3 separate regions of the Homo sapiens genome follow, and regions 1 and 2 are each linked to region 3. The links are contacts of gene promoters, found by promoter capture Hi-C in human tissues and cell types (Jung and others, 2019). All regions are on one chromosome and are shown on one strand. Each heading gives the region's core, a stretch centred on a gene start or on the middle of the fragment in contact. The rest is flanking DNA. Distances are from core to core; before and after follow the strand shown.

What was found. Contacts are between HindIII fragments. The study calls those that stand out against the background at their distance.
Region 1: a fragment that was not itself captured here is called in contact with the fragment with the promoter of PRSS22 in region 3 in 2 of the 25 tissues and cell types used here (dorsolateral prefrontal cortex and spleen).
Region 2: the fragment with the promoter of KCTD5 here is called in contact with the fragment with the promoter of PRSS22 in region 3 in 4 of the 25 tissues and cell types used here (IMR-90 fibroblasts, aorta, lymphoblastoid cells and 1 more).

Annotation. Positions count from the first base shown.
Region 1 is chr16:2,654,822-2,658,776 of GRCh38, forward strand. ERVK13-1 (endogenous retrovirus group K13 member 1) reads right to left here. Exons shown (of 3, transcript NR_040023.1): 3 at 3,568-3,955. Among named protein-coding and RNA genes, the nearest start is that of ERVK13-1, 17 kb to the right of the region's middle. The HindIII fragment of the contact is 7,363 bases long and covers 1-3,955 here.
Region 2 is chr16:2,681,013-2,685,479 of GRCh38, forward strand. It overlaps KCTD5 (potassium channel tetramerization domain containing 5), which reads left to right and starts at 1,511. Exons shown (of 6, transcript NM_018992.4): 1 at 1,511-1,788. The coding sequence starts at 1,537. RefSeq lists a silencer at 1,594-1,773 and enhancers at 1,869-2,479, 2,024-2,073, 2,144-2,193. The HindIII fragment of the contact is 14,940 bases long and covers 1-4,467 here.
Region 3 is chr16:2,855,524-2,859,783 of GRCh38, forward strand. PRSS22 (serine protease 22) reads right to left here and starts at 2,647. Exons shown (of 6, transcript NM_022119.4): 1 at 2,500-2,647; 2 at 1,299-1,325; 3 at 559-730; 4 at 51-328. The coding sequence starts at 2,581. RefSeq lists enhancers at 2,032-2,632, 2,633-3,233, 3,234-3,833. The HindIII fragment of the contact is 21,792 bases long and covers 1-4,260 here.

The DNA.
Region 1 (3,955 bases), core at 647-3,146, 200 kb before region 3:
TGTGTACTCCCTCAGCCTGGCGTCCAGAGTCAGGCCCAACTGGGAGAGAGAAACGCAGACGAACCTAGCGCTCGCCCTCAGGAAGGACCCCCGATGAGGTCCACATGGGGGGAAATGAACAGCCGTCAGCCTTCCTAGCTCGTAAGTTGGGAGCCTGCTCACTAACCTGCCTCCCCAGGGTCTGGCTGCTGCGGCTCTCCAGATCAAACCTTCCCAAGAACAGGGCTGAGCAAAGCCAGCGCTCCATTCTTCCAAAGACTGATCTGTCCCCATCCTTTCCCACAGGGGAAGTCCAAGCAGTGCTGTGTGCCAGCCAGCACTGGCACACGGTGGGTCTGAAGGTCAATTAGCCCCGCCCCCACCGAGGTCGGAGAGCTCTCACTCACTGAGCCCTGGGCCTGGGTGCACAGCGGGGACTCTGAGACAGGTGGGCTGCTGAGATCCTCACTGCTGGGCTCCCCAAGGACCATCAGTCACACAACCATCCTGGGGATATAGCTGCAGCTCTACAGGTGGCTGCACCCACCCACAGAGCACACGTCCCTTTTGCCGCCACAGGACACCTTAGAAGCTACAGCAAAGTCAAGGCCTAGGAAAAGCCTCATGGCACCTTGCTCAAGCAGGATACAGACCACGAAAGCAGGGCCCCGCTGTCAGGAGGGAAAAGCAGTGTAAAGTCAGAAGGGCCACTAAGGGATACTGGGCATGGTGCAGAGATTGGGCATGGTGGCTCATGCCTCTAATCCCAGCACTTTGGGAGGCCAAGTTGGGTGGATCATGTGAGGTCAGGAGTTCAACACCAGCGTGACCAACATGGTGAAACCCTGCCTCTACTAAAAATACAAAAATTAGGCTGGGTGCAGTGGCTCACGCCTGTAATCCCAGCACTTTAGGAGGCCAAGGAGGCTGGATCACGAGGTCAGGAGTTCAAGACCAGCCTGGCCAATATGGTGGAAACGCGTCTCTACTAAAAATACAAAATTAGCCAGGCATGGTGACGCATGCCTGTAATCTCAGCTACTCAGGAGGCTGAGGCAGGAGAATGGCGTGAAACTGGGAGGCGGATGTTGCAGTGAGCCAAGATCGTGCCACTGCACTCCAGGCTGGGTGACAAGTTTGAGACTCCATCTCAAAAAAAAAAAAAAAAAAGATTAGCTAGGTGTGGCGGCACAGGCCTGTAGTCCCAGCAACTCAGGAGGCTAAGGCTGGGGGATGGCTTGAGCCCAGGGGAGTTCAAGGCTGCAGTGAGCTATGATCACACCACTGCATTCCAGTTTGGGCAACAGAGTAAAACTGTCTCTATAAAGGACTTTGAGGAGGACTGGGGACCACTGAGGAAGGCTGCATGTCACCTTTGCATTAGAAAATGCCATGTTATGATAAAACTCCATCTCTACTAAAAATACAAAAATTAGCCAGGCACGGTGGTACACACTTGTAGTCCCAGCCACTTGGGAGGCTGAGGCAGGTGAATCACTTGAACCCAGGAGGTGGAGGTTTCAATGAGCCAAAATCAAAGTACTGCACTCCAGCCTGGGCAACAGCATGAGATTCCATCTCAAAAAAACAAAAAAAAAAAAAAAAAGAAAATGCAATGTTAATTCTATCTCGGATGTGATAATGATGAGGTTGTAGAGGAGACAGCTTCTGAGCTCAGAAGGCACCTGGAGAAGGATTCTGGGGTGAAATGCTATCATGTGTGTGACTTACTTTCAAATAATAAAAATAATAGAAAAAAATTTGGGGAGGTGAGAGGGTAACATATACAAGCAAATATGGAAAAGGTTAACAACTGGTAGAATCCAGGTGAAAGGCTAGGGATATTCATTGTACTATGCGTTCAACTCTTCTTTAGTTTTGAAATTTTTCAGAATAAAAATTAGTGGAGAAAGGTTCATCTTCAGTCCAGTAAGCTCCAGGAGACAGAGCCAGACCTACCTTATTCACCACTGTTTCTCCACTGCTAGCACAATGCCTGGTCCTTATCCCACTGGCCCAGGAAACCACTGCTAATGTTTCTGTGGGAACCTCCCTCCAAGCTTTTCCCTGGGCCTGAGGAAAGTTATACTGGGCATGCTGCTTTGCAGCCAGCTCTTTTCAGATAGAAATACTTTGTAACCACCTGTCAGGAGAGTACAGTCTGCCATCCCCATCCATAGGTTGACTCCACATGCATGGATTCAACCAACAGTGGATAGAAAATATTAGAAAAACAAGAAATTGCATCTGTACTGAACATGCACAGACTTTTTTTCTTGTCATTATTCCCTAAAGAATATAGTAAAGCAACTATTTACATAGCATTTACATTACATTAGGCATTATATGTAATCTGGTGATGACAGAGTACACAGGAGGGTGTGCACAGATTATATGCAAACACTATACCACTTCAGAGCAAGGGCTTCAGCACCCTCCGACTCTGGTATCTGAGAGAGGTCCTGGGACCAATTTCCCACAGATCCTGAGGGACGACACAGACTTCACCACAATGTTTCTACCTATCTCTGCCTGAGGGAAATTCAAGATATTTCCAGTTCTCCCCTATTTCAAAGCTGTGACAAATATTCTAGTAGCAAAATCTTTGCATACACTTTAATTATTTTCCGATCTTAAATTCCCAGAACGGGAACTGTTGAATCAGCCTGTGTTTGAACACGCGCTGGCAACTGACTGCTGCCCCACCTCAGCAACGACAGGCGCTTACGTTCCCACCTGTACTGAGTTCCAGCTTCCATCTACAAATGCCAGATATTGCCACTTTCACTGCAATGCACTCCAGCCTGGGCGACAGAGCAAGATTCTGTCTCAAAAACAAAAAACAAAAAACCCAGCAGATTGGTCAGAAAAGACTGTACAGCCACAGGGGTTTCCATGTAGGGAAATTTCTCTAGGCAAGGAGGAAAAGCCTGAAGAAGACAAGAACTGCTGAGAACAGGGCAGCAGGGAACATCCTGGACCCACCTGGGCCGCACAGGCTGGAAAGAGAGGCCGTGGCCGGGCATCCGAGCCTGGGCCCCTCACAGAGGAGGAACAAAGTGACAGGCCAGGAGAGGAGGGGAAGATGCAGGAGTGCTGGCATCTGGGGACCAGCCAGCAAGTCCTTGGAGCCCTCCCTCACCAGAAAAGGGGAAGCAGGAAGGACAGCGGCAATGGCCAGAGTGAGGAGAATGCAGCGTCCTGCAGCTCCATGGAGTGAGCGCCTCCTTCACGGAGCAGCCCTGGCCGCCCTGCAACTGAGGCCGCGGCACCGAGGGTCCCGCCAATGCAGCAAGGGGCGAGAGACACCACACCTAAGACTCAGGAGCAAGGTCCTGTCCCCGCTCCCAACCCCGGGGCTCCTGGAATCACCGAGGCAGAACTGAAAAGTGAGTGCGGGCCCCTTTCCCACATGTTCCACTGCAAAGGTCAACACACGCCAGGCGCATTTCAGTGAGGCTTCAAGTCTTCCCTGCAAATCTCATCAGCCTTTTCTGATGGCATTCAATGCACAGCGGTCACTTTCAGCTACAACCCCTTCCTACTGCAGTCGAATTAATTCCAAAAGGGAAAAAACAGGTTAAAGAATGGGACTTTAACGATGAATTTATTGCAAAAAATAAGCCCATAGCCAGAAGAATCCTGACTGGCATCCTGCTGAGACACACAGCCTCTCCTCAGCCCTCTCCAGCACGGGGAGAGGGCACTGTCACCAGCTCCGCAAACACGCAGGAGACGGGGACCTCCAGAACTAACGTCCTTGGTCTCCAGACGTACCTTCAAACCTCATCTTTAAATATTTTGAATCCCTGCGTGCTACAAGCTGATTTGAAACACAGATTGGGCCGGTCCCAGCACGGTGGCTGGTAGAGAGGGCATCTGATCTTGTCTGTGGAATGATGGAAGTCACTGGACTGTCCAGGAACTACATGCCCACCTTCATCAGATGGAAACCACACACTTGTTTATTCTGCAG
Region 2 (4,467 bases), core at 261-2,760, 180 kb before region 3:
TGTTAAGTTGGATGTTGGCAAAATTAAATTGTTACAGTATTTAGAGCTGCTGTAGCTGTTCCTTCACAACATGAAATAGGATAAATGACTAGTACGTCTTTCAGGTGGGTGGCAGTCAGAACATGCGTAATATTCTCTACCTGGTCTGTAGCTGTAACTGTGATGTACAGACAAAGCAAAAATTAAAAGAACTCATGAAAACAAATAATACAATGGTATTAGGATATACACTTTTGTGTTTTTAATCTTATAGAAGGTTATTTGCTGGCTATTGTTGGCCTCTAGTTCAGCCTGTTATTTAAATTCTTTTTTTTTCTTGAGACGGAGTCTCACTCTGTCGCCCAGGCTAGAGTGCAGTGGCCTGATCTCGGCTAACTGCAACCTCCGCCTCCTGGGTTTAAGCAATTCTCTGCCTCAGCCTCCGAGTAGCTGGGATTACGAGCGCCCACAACCACATCTGGCTAATTTTTTGTATTTTTGGTAGAGACGGAGATTCACCATCTTGGCCAGGCTGATGTTGAACTCCTGACCTCGTGATCCACCCACCTTGGCCTCCCAAAGTGTTGGGATTACAGACATGAGCCACCGCGCCCGGCCTAAATTCTAATATATGAATTATTTGTATTGAATTCATGTTCGGGGCCACGTTGTTATATGTATTGATATACAGCCTTGAATGTGAATAATTACTATATATTTTACAACTTTTTTCTGGCTTTATTACAAAAACTTTCTTTTTTTTTTTTTGAGACAGACTCTCGCCCTATCACCAGGCTGGAGTGCAGTGGCGAGATCTCAGCTCACTGCAACCTCTGCCTCCCGGGTTCACGCCATTCTCCTGCCGCAGCCTCCCGAGTAGCTTGGATTACCGGCGCCCACCACCGCGCCAGGCTAATTTTTGTATTTTCAGTGGAGACCGGGCCTCACCATGTTGGCCAGCGTGGTCTCGATCTCCTGACCGCCTGATCCTCCCGCCTCGGCCTCCCAAAGTGCTGGGATTACAGGCGTGAGCCACCAGGCCCCGCCCTTATTATATAAATTTTCTATTGGGTCAATGATTTAATCATATAATTTAATGAATCTGTTCTTTTTTTCCCCCCAAATATTTGTGCTTTAGGTGTAGTTACCAGATGATGAATTTTCCTCCTATGCTCCGTAGTCTTGTAATAAAAAGCATGTACAGTGTAGACGTTTGCTGGCATGGCTCTTCCTTTGACCAGTTCATGAACTGGAGTCAGGGTGGGGGTGAAGGCTAGGGTCGAGGTCTGGGTCAGGCGCTCGTGCACCGCTCGTGGGAGGTCGAGGCTGATGTCCGCTGCTCCCCATCAGCGTTAGTGCCCAGATCACCCCGTGCTCCGCTCCCGCCGGAAGCGGGCCCAGCCTCCTGCTTTTCGGGACCGGAACTTCCGCCTACCGCGTGACGCCGGGGCGGGCGCTCTACCAGGGCGGACCTGTGGGCGGGACAGAACTCAGAGGACGCTATTAAAAGCCGGACGCTTCCGGTGGAAGGGAGCTGTTGCGGGGCTTGCTGGGATCATGGCGGAGAATCACTGCGAGCTCCTGTCGCCGGCCCGGGGCGGCATCGGGGCGGGGCTGGGGGGCGGCCTGTGCCGCCGCTGCAGCGCTGGGCTCGGCGCCCTGGCCCAGCGCCCTGGCAGCGTGTCCAAGTGGGTCCGACTCAACGTCGGCGGCACCTACTTCCTCACCACTCGGCAGACCCTGTGCCGGGACCCGAAATCCTTCCTGTACCGCTTATGCCAGGCCGATCCCGACCTGGACTCAGACAAGGTGAGGGCCTCACGGGCCAGCCCGGAGGGTCCTGGCCTTCCCGGCCTGCGGCTCCTGCACACGCCCTGCTTCGTGCGGAGGAGACTTCAGCGGGAGCGGGCGACTCTCCTCGGGCTTCGAGCCCCGCGCTCCCTTGTCGCCAGCTCCTCCCCAGCTTGCCCCGATCCCCTACCCTGGGAGGGGAGGGTGAGGATGGCGCCCTGGCGTCCACTGCCTTTGAGGATCCTGAGTCGATTCACCTTGGGGGTGTCTCTTCCTCGCCCTCTTTGCTCTTTGGTGGAGGAGGCTTCCTAGACCCCGGACTTTGCTGTGATTCTACTTTCTTTTTCTCACTAGGTTCTTTTGCCCAGGGTGTGTGAACGCCTTCTCTTCTCTGTCCCAGGGTACTTGCTGGCTCTGGAAACAGAACCCTTGGCGTTGTTTCACATTCTGGACGTTTGAATTAACGCTGACGTGGGGGTTGATATGGGCGGCCCTTTTTTTCCCTGGTGACTTGCATTTAGAGAGTTGGCGCTCCATCCTTTCCATCCACAGCACGCAGCACCCACTCAGCACCTCTTAGAAGATGCGTCCGTAGTATATAGTATGATTTTTCGAAGGGGATTTTGCTCATATTAAGGGTTGCTTTAGGGATGTCCAGGAAGGGTCAGGTAAGGAATCTTTCAATCTGCTTTCTAATTGGCTTAGTTTTCCCACTGTCTTCGCAAAAGGACAGGAATTTCCAGGTTAGTTTGCAGCTTGTCTTTCATCAAGCGAAATGCTCATGCTGTTGGGTAGATGGTAATAGAAACCTTTTGCTACCTTTATTTATCAAGAGTTGTGGAGCCGAGGAACCGTGTCTTGGGAGTTGTGCAGGATTGAAACTCACAAAAAAGCCTGTTTGAAGAAGTTGTTACCTATATTTATTCAAGGCAGTTCACAAGCCTTATACTAACTTTGCGGGGTCTTTCAGTTGAGCTTACATGACTGCGCTTGGCTTTGTGCCTTGGCAGCCAACATTTGCCATGCAGGAGGCTTCCCAGAAAGGTTCGGATCCCTCTTCAAGTTTGAGAAGCCTGACTGAGACCATTCTCAGCATGGCATGACCGTGATCAGGAAGTGAGAATCTGGAGTTACTGCTAAGGCAGCCTTGTGGGTGGAAATGAGGGTTTGAGATGCCAACCCTCCTGTGCCTCCCCACAACTTCCAACTGTTTCCATTGCTCATTTGACCAAGCCCTCTACTCAGAGAATTGACCTCCCAGGAAATGACAGTCATCCCCAGGATAGAAATAGGCGTTTGTTAGCTGTGATTTTCCTTTTATAAGTGTGGGTGTATGTTTTACTGTTTGGTTTTTCTTTTTAAATAACAGGGCTTAGTGGTCACTCCCTTGCCTTTCTACTCAAGCATTCCTGTTTTGTATATGAAATTAGAGTTTAAATTGCTCTTGTCCATTGGGTTCTTTGAGGCAATGGTTGTCTATTCAGCACTGGAGCACTTGATTCCCAGTTGATGAACTTTAGCACAGTTAAGGTGGTTGATCCCTTTGCTTTACTGTTCCTTAAGACTTTGTTAAAAATTATGGGCCAGGCGCGGTGGCTCATGCCTGTAATCCCAACACTTTGGGAGGCCCAGGCAGGTGGATCTCGTTCAAAACCAACCGGGCCAATATGGTGATGCCCGGTCTCTACTAAAAATACAAAAAGGTGGGCGCGGTGGCTCACGTCTGTAATCCCAGCACTTTGGGAGGCCGAGGCAGGCGGATCACGAGGTCAGGAGATCGAGACCATCCTGGCTAACATGATGAAACTCTGTCTCTACTAAAAATACAAAAAATGAGCCAGGCGCGGTGGCGAGCACCTGTAGTCCCAGCTACTAGGCAGTCTGAGGCAGGAGAATGGCGTGAGCCTGGGAGGAGGAGCTTGCAGTGAGCCTAGTTAGCGCCACTGCAGTCCAGCCTGGGTGAAAGAGCAAGACTCCATCACAAAAAAAAAAAAATAAAAAAAAAATAAGCCAGGTGTGGTGGCGCGTGCCTGTAGTCCCAGCTACTCTGGAGGCTGAGGCAGAAGAATCGCTTGAACCTGGGAGGTGGAGCTTGCAGTGAGTCAAGATCACGCCACTGCACTCTAGCTTGGATGACAGAGGAAGACTCTGTCTCAAACAAACAAAAAAATGCTTTACTGTAGGAATCAATTCTTTGAGCGAGGGGTAATTAATCTTTCTGAATATATCTGTGTTATACTTGCTCTTTTCATCATCATCCATTTAACCAGGTTTGATTTCCAAATGGTAAACTCAAATTCAGAACATGAAGGTAAAGTAGCAGATACAGTCGTCTCTGTCTCATACAATAATTGGAGTAGGGGCCGGGCAAGGTGGCTCACGCCTGTAATCCCAGCACTTTGGGAGGCCGAGGCGCGTGAATCACCTGAGGTCAGGAGTTTGAGAGCAGCCTGGCCAGCATGGCAAAACCCCGTCTCTACTAAAAATACAAAAAAATTAGCTGGGCATGGTGGCGCGTGCCTGTACTCCCAGCTACTCGGGAGGCTGAGGCAGGAGAACCACTTGAACCGAGAGGCAGAGGTTACAGTGGGCTGAGGTTGCGCCACTGCACTCCAGCATGGGCGACAGATCGAGACTCTGTCTCAAAAAAAAAGAAAAAAGAAAAGGAGAAAACAATAATTGGAGTAAATAAGGTTA
Region 3 (4,260 bases), core at 1,397-3,896:
TCCTCTGTCCCCATCTGCCCCCAACCACCTTGGAGAGGAAGAAGCCGCACCTCCATCTTGGATGCTCCCCCAGCCTGAGATCCAGCAGTGGGTGTTTGGAGGGAGGTGGATAGAGGCATCAGGTAGGCAGATGGGCAGGACCCGCTCTGAGAACTGTATGGAGCGCTCGAGACGCACCAGGGCAATGTCTGCACAGGCACCTTCCTTCCAGGAATACACAGGGTGGGGCTCCACCCAGGCAACACCCACCTTCTGGGACCGAGAGCCAGGGTTCCCCAGCTGCCAGGCCCCCAGCAGCACAGAGAACAGGTATGGTTTGTTCAGGTTGCTGGAAGGAAAGGGAAGGGGAGGATCAGCCAGGCCTGGTCTGGGAGGAGGTACCTGGGGGAACAGCATGGGTGTGAAGGCCCCTGAAGGCAGGAGAGGCTTCTAGGTAGAATCGAGGGGCACCAAGATTGAACAGAGGCCCGGAAGCAGAGCCTGTAAAGGGAGCCCAGGGCCTGGGGCACAAAGCCCAGGGCCTTAGAAGATCAAGTGCCCCAGGCCGGCTGTACATACTCCTTGAAACAGTGGGCAGCAGTGATCACCCAGCGGCTGGTGAGCAGAGAACCTGCGCAGTGGTGGGTCCCATTCTTCTGGATGCTCACGATCCAGGGCCACTCGCTGTCAGTGCTGTCCTCGCCGCCCACAACCCGGTTCAGCTGCTGGGGCTTCCCACAGGCTGGGGGAACTGGAGGGTACGGTCAAGTTTTGTTATCTCCAACTTCCTACAACCCACCCCCGGAATCCCAATCCCTAGGCCTGCACCCCAAGCTTTGCCCACAGCCCAAGCTCCGTTCATGTCCCCAAGCTCTACCCACATCCCAAGTTTCACTTGCACTCCAAGCTCCACCCACACCCCAAGCTCCACCCACATCCTAAGCTCCACCCATACCCCAAGCTCCGCCCACCTCCCCGTCCCATCCCTCCCTCCATCCTCACTCTCTGCTGGTCCTCACCTGGCCCTGGCCTTTCCACTCACTCCTTGTCAGCTGCACCTGGTCTCTCCCTCCCCCTCTTTCCTTACCCTGCTTTCCACTCTGTTCACCTTCCTGGCTCTCTCTCTCCTCTGGCCCTGGCATCTCTCAAGCCTTTCTCCTTGCATCCGTGTCTCCTTCCTGCCTCCCTTCCCCTCTAGCTCTTTCCCCCTCTCACCCCAGCCCCTTTCTGACCTGTGCCCAGGGGACGGACACATAGACACTGCCTGCGCGTGGGCCTCCTCCCTTCTCCCTCCCGTCAGAGCTGCCAGCTCCACTCACCAGGTATCCTGGCCGCATTGAGGATGGCTGAGGGCAAGAGAAGGAAACGGTTAGGCCGGTGAGGGGCCCCAGGACACAGTGGTGAGGGGCCCTCAACGCCCAGTGAGGAAGGCCCCCAACACCCAGTAAGAAGGGATCCCAGTGCCCAGTGAGGTGGAGGTCCCAGCACCCAGTGAGGAGGGTCCCTCAGCGCCCAGTGAGGAGGGGTCCCAGCACCCCCTGAGGAGGGTCCCTCAGCGCCCAGTGAGGAGGGGTCCCAGTACCCAGTGAGGAGGGTCCCTCAGCGCCCAGCGAGAAGCCCCCAGCACCCAGTGAGAAGGGGTCCAGTGCCCAGTGGGAAGGGGTCCCAGCACCCAGTGAGGAGGGGTCCCCAGCGCCCAGTGAGGAGGGCTCCCCAGCGCCTAGTGAGGAGGGTTCCCCAGCGCCCAGTGAGGAGGGGTCCCCAGCGCCCAGTGAGGAGGGCTCCCCAGCGCCCAGTGAGGAGGGGTCCCCAGCGCCCAGTGACGAGGGGGTCCCAGCGCTCAGTGAGGAGGGGGTCCCAGCGCCCAGTGAGGAGGGGTCCCAGCGCCCAGTGAGCAGGCGTCCCAGCGCCCAGTGAGGAGGGGGTCCCCTTGAGTACCTGGTGGTGAGGAACCTCTAGCCCTCCAGTGCCCAGGGAGACTCTCAAGTCTCTCAACCCCAGGGCCCCTACCGGCGGGGCATTTCCTGGGGCCTGGCCAGGCCCTGGCTGCACAGCTGTGACCCTGCCCTCCCGCAGCTTCCCGTCCAGCCTGCCTTCCGGGGACCAGGACCGGCTCCTCGAGGGAGGCACAGACCTGAGCCCCTCGGCTCTGGACGCTGCTGCCGCTGGTGTGCCCTCCCCTGACCTCCTGCGGCAGGAACAACACAAAACGGTGCTTCCCCAGAGGCAAGCAGCGGAGGACGAGGAGATGGGAGAACACGGAGGCGAGAGGGAGCAGGCGATGGCGACGCCGACGGTAACTGGAGACCGAGGCGCGCTGCGTACTTGCTGCGTTTTCTGTTTCATCCTCACAGCCGTAGAAGAAACCGAGGCACAGAGCAGTTAAGGAGCAAGAGATAAACAGAGCAGAAGCGGAAAGGAGATGAGAGAGGCAAGGCCAGGAGGGAGAGAGGGAGGGAGGGAAGGAGGGAAGGAGGGTGGAGGTGAGAGGGAGGAGGGAGGAGCAGCCTCCGGACGTACCTGTCGACGCCAGCAGCAGCAGGGAGGTGAAGGTGCCGAGACAGCCCCCACCCAGGGCTGGGGGCGCTCCAGAAACCACCATGGCTGGTGGGGCGGGGGAGCAGGCAGCAGGCTCGAGAGACCCAGGGCGATGCGGGTCAGGGTGTGTAGGTTCCCTGCAGGTCGCCCCAGGTTTTATCCTGGGAGGCGGAATGCCGTCAGACCAGTCCCCAGGTGGCTCCCGCGGCCACCCCGGCTGTGGGTCCTGGGCAGAGGGCGGGGCTGCGGGGAGGAAGCCAGCCGCTACAGGGCTCTGGGGGGGCTCTAGCTGAGACCCCAGGATGTGGCCTCTGGAAGGGCAGGGGAGGGGGCTTGGGCCCAGAGGTCCCTGACATTAATTGTCCAGGGGCAGAGAAAGGTGCCAGGGCACTGAAAGGAAGGGGTTCCGGGCTGGGGAGGGCCTGGGTTTGGAGAGGCTGAAGTCTGGGGTACTGGGTGTTGGGGGTGGTCCTAGGGCCTTAGGGATCAAGGGGGTGCCCAAAGCTCAGTAACGGCTCCCACCTGCAGGGCCCCAGGCCCCTGTGACTCAGCCCAGAGACCTGGCGCAACCCGGGCTTGGGAATCCCGTTAACCCACTTCCCGAAAGCTGTGAATCAGGTGAGTGGCGACCTTGGTGGCCTCCTGGTGGCCGCCCTCCTGTCGTTCCTGGAGGCGGGGCTCTGCCCTGCGGTTCAGACACCTGACAACTCACCTCACCTGGACTCCTGGGAAGGGGAGGAGCCCATGGGCACCAGGGCTCGGCCAAGCAGGGGGGTTGAGAGAAGAGGGGCCCCGGGAAGGGCTGGGACTCCCAGGATTCAAAGAGCTGCTGGGCTGGGCTGTGGGGGGCCGGGTCCTGGGCTGGGAGTGGATTCTCGGTGCTTCCCCCCAGCGGCTGCCACAGTGGCAACCCGGGGCTGAATCCTGTGAGACCTTCCCTGACTCAGTGCCCTGCAGCGCCCCACACTTGGGACACTCCCACCCAAGCAGGGCAGGCTTCCTCCTCTACAAAGAGGCAGGAGCCTGCGCCCCTTCACTCATTCGATCAACAAGCCTCCAGCAGGGCCCTTGCTACCGCCGGGGGTGAATTAAAAACAACCATAGTGTCTGGGTGGGGTGGCTTATTCCTGTAATCCCAGCACTTTGGGAGGCCAAGACGGACAGATCATGAGGTCAGGAGTTCAATACCAGTCTGGCCAACATAGTAAAACCCCGTCTCTACTAAAAATACAAAAAAAAAAAAATTAGCCAGGCATGGTGGCAGGCGCCCTTAGTCCCATCTACTTGGGAGGCTGAGGCAGGAGAATCGCTTGAACCTGGGAGGCGGAGGTTGCAGTGAGCTGAGATCACGCCACTGCACTCCAGCCTGGGCGACAGAGCGAGACTCTGTTTCAAAAAAAAAAAAAAAAAACCATAGTAGTGAATATGTATGTAATAAATATATTTATACAAATATAAATATAGTATTTATATAATAGAGCAAACATTTAGGAGTGCCATGCATTGCCTCCTAATCCTCAAATGTCTTTATTATTCCCACTCTGCAGATAAGGAAACTGAGGCAGCTTAGGGCGGTTAAGTGACTTGCCCGAGATTGCTGGGTGAGTGGTGGAGCCGGACCTGCACCCCAACACTGGGGGTGGCTGCTGGGACTGCCCTCATGGAGGCTTCGGGAGCCTGGAGGAGGTGCCTCACCCTGCCTGGGGTGAGCCCTAACTTGCTCCCTGCAGAGTCAGGGTGGCG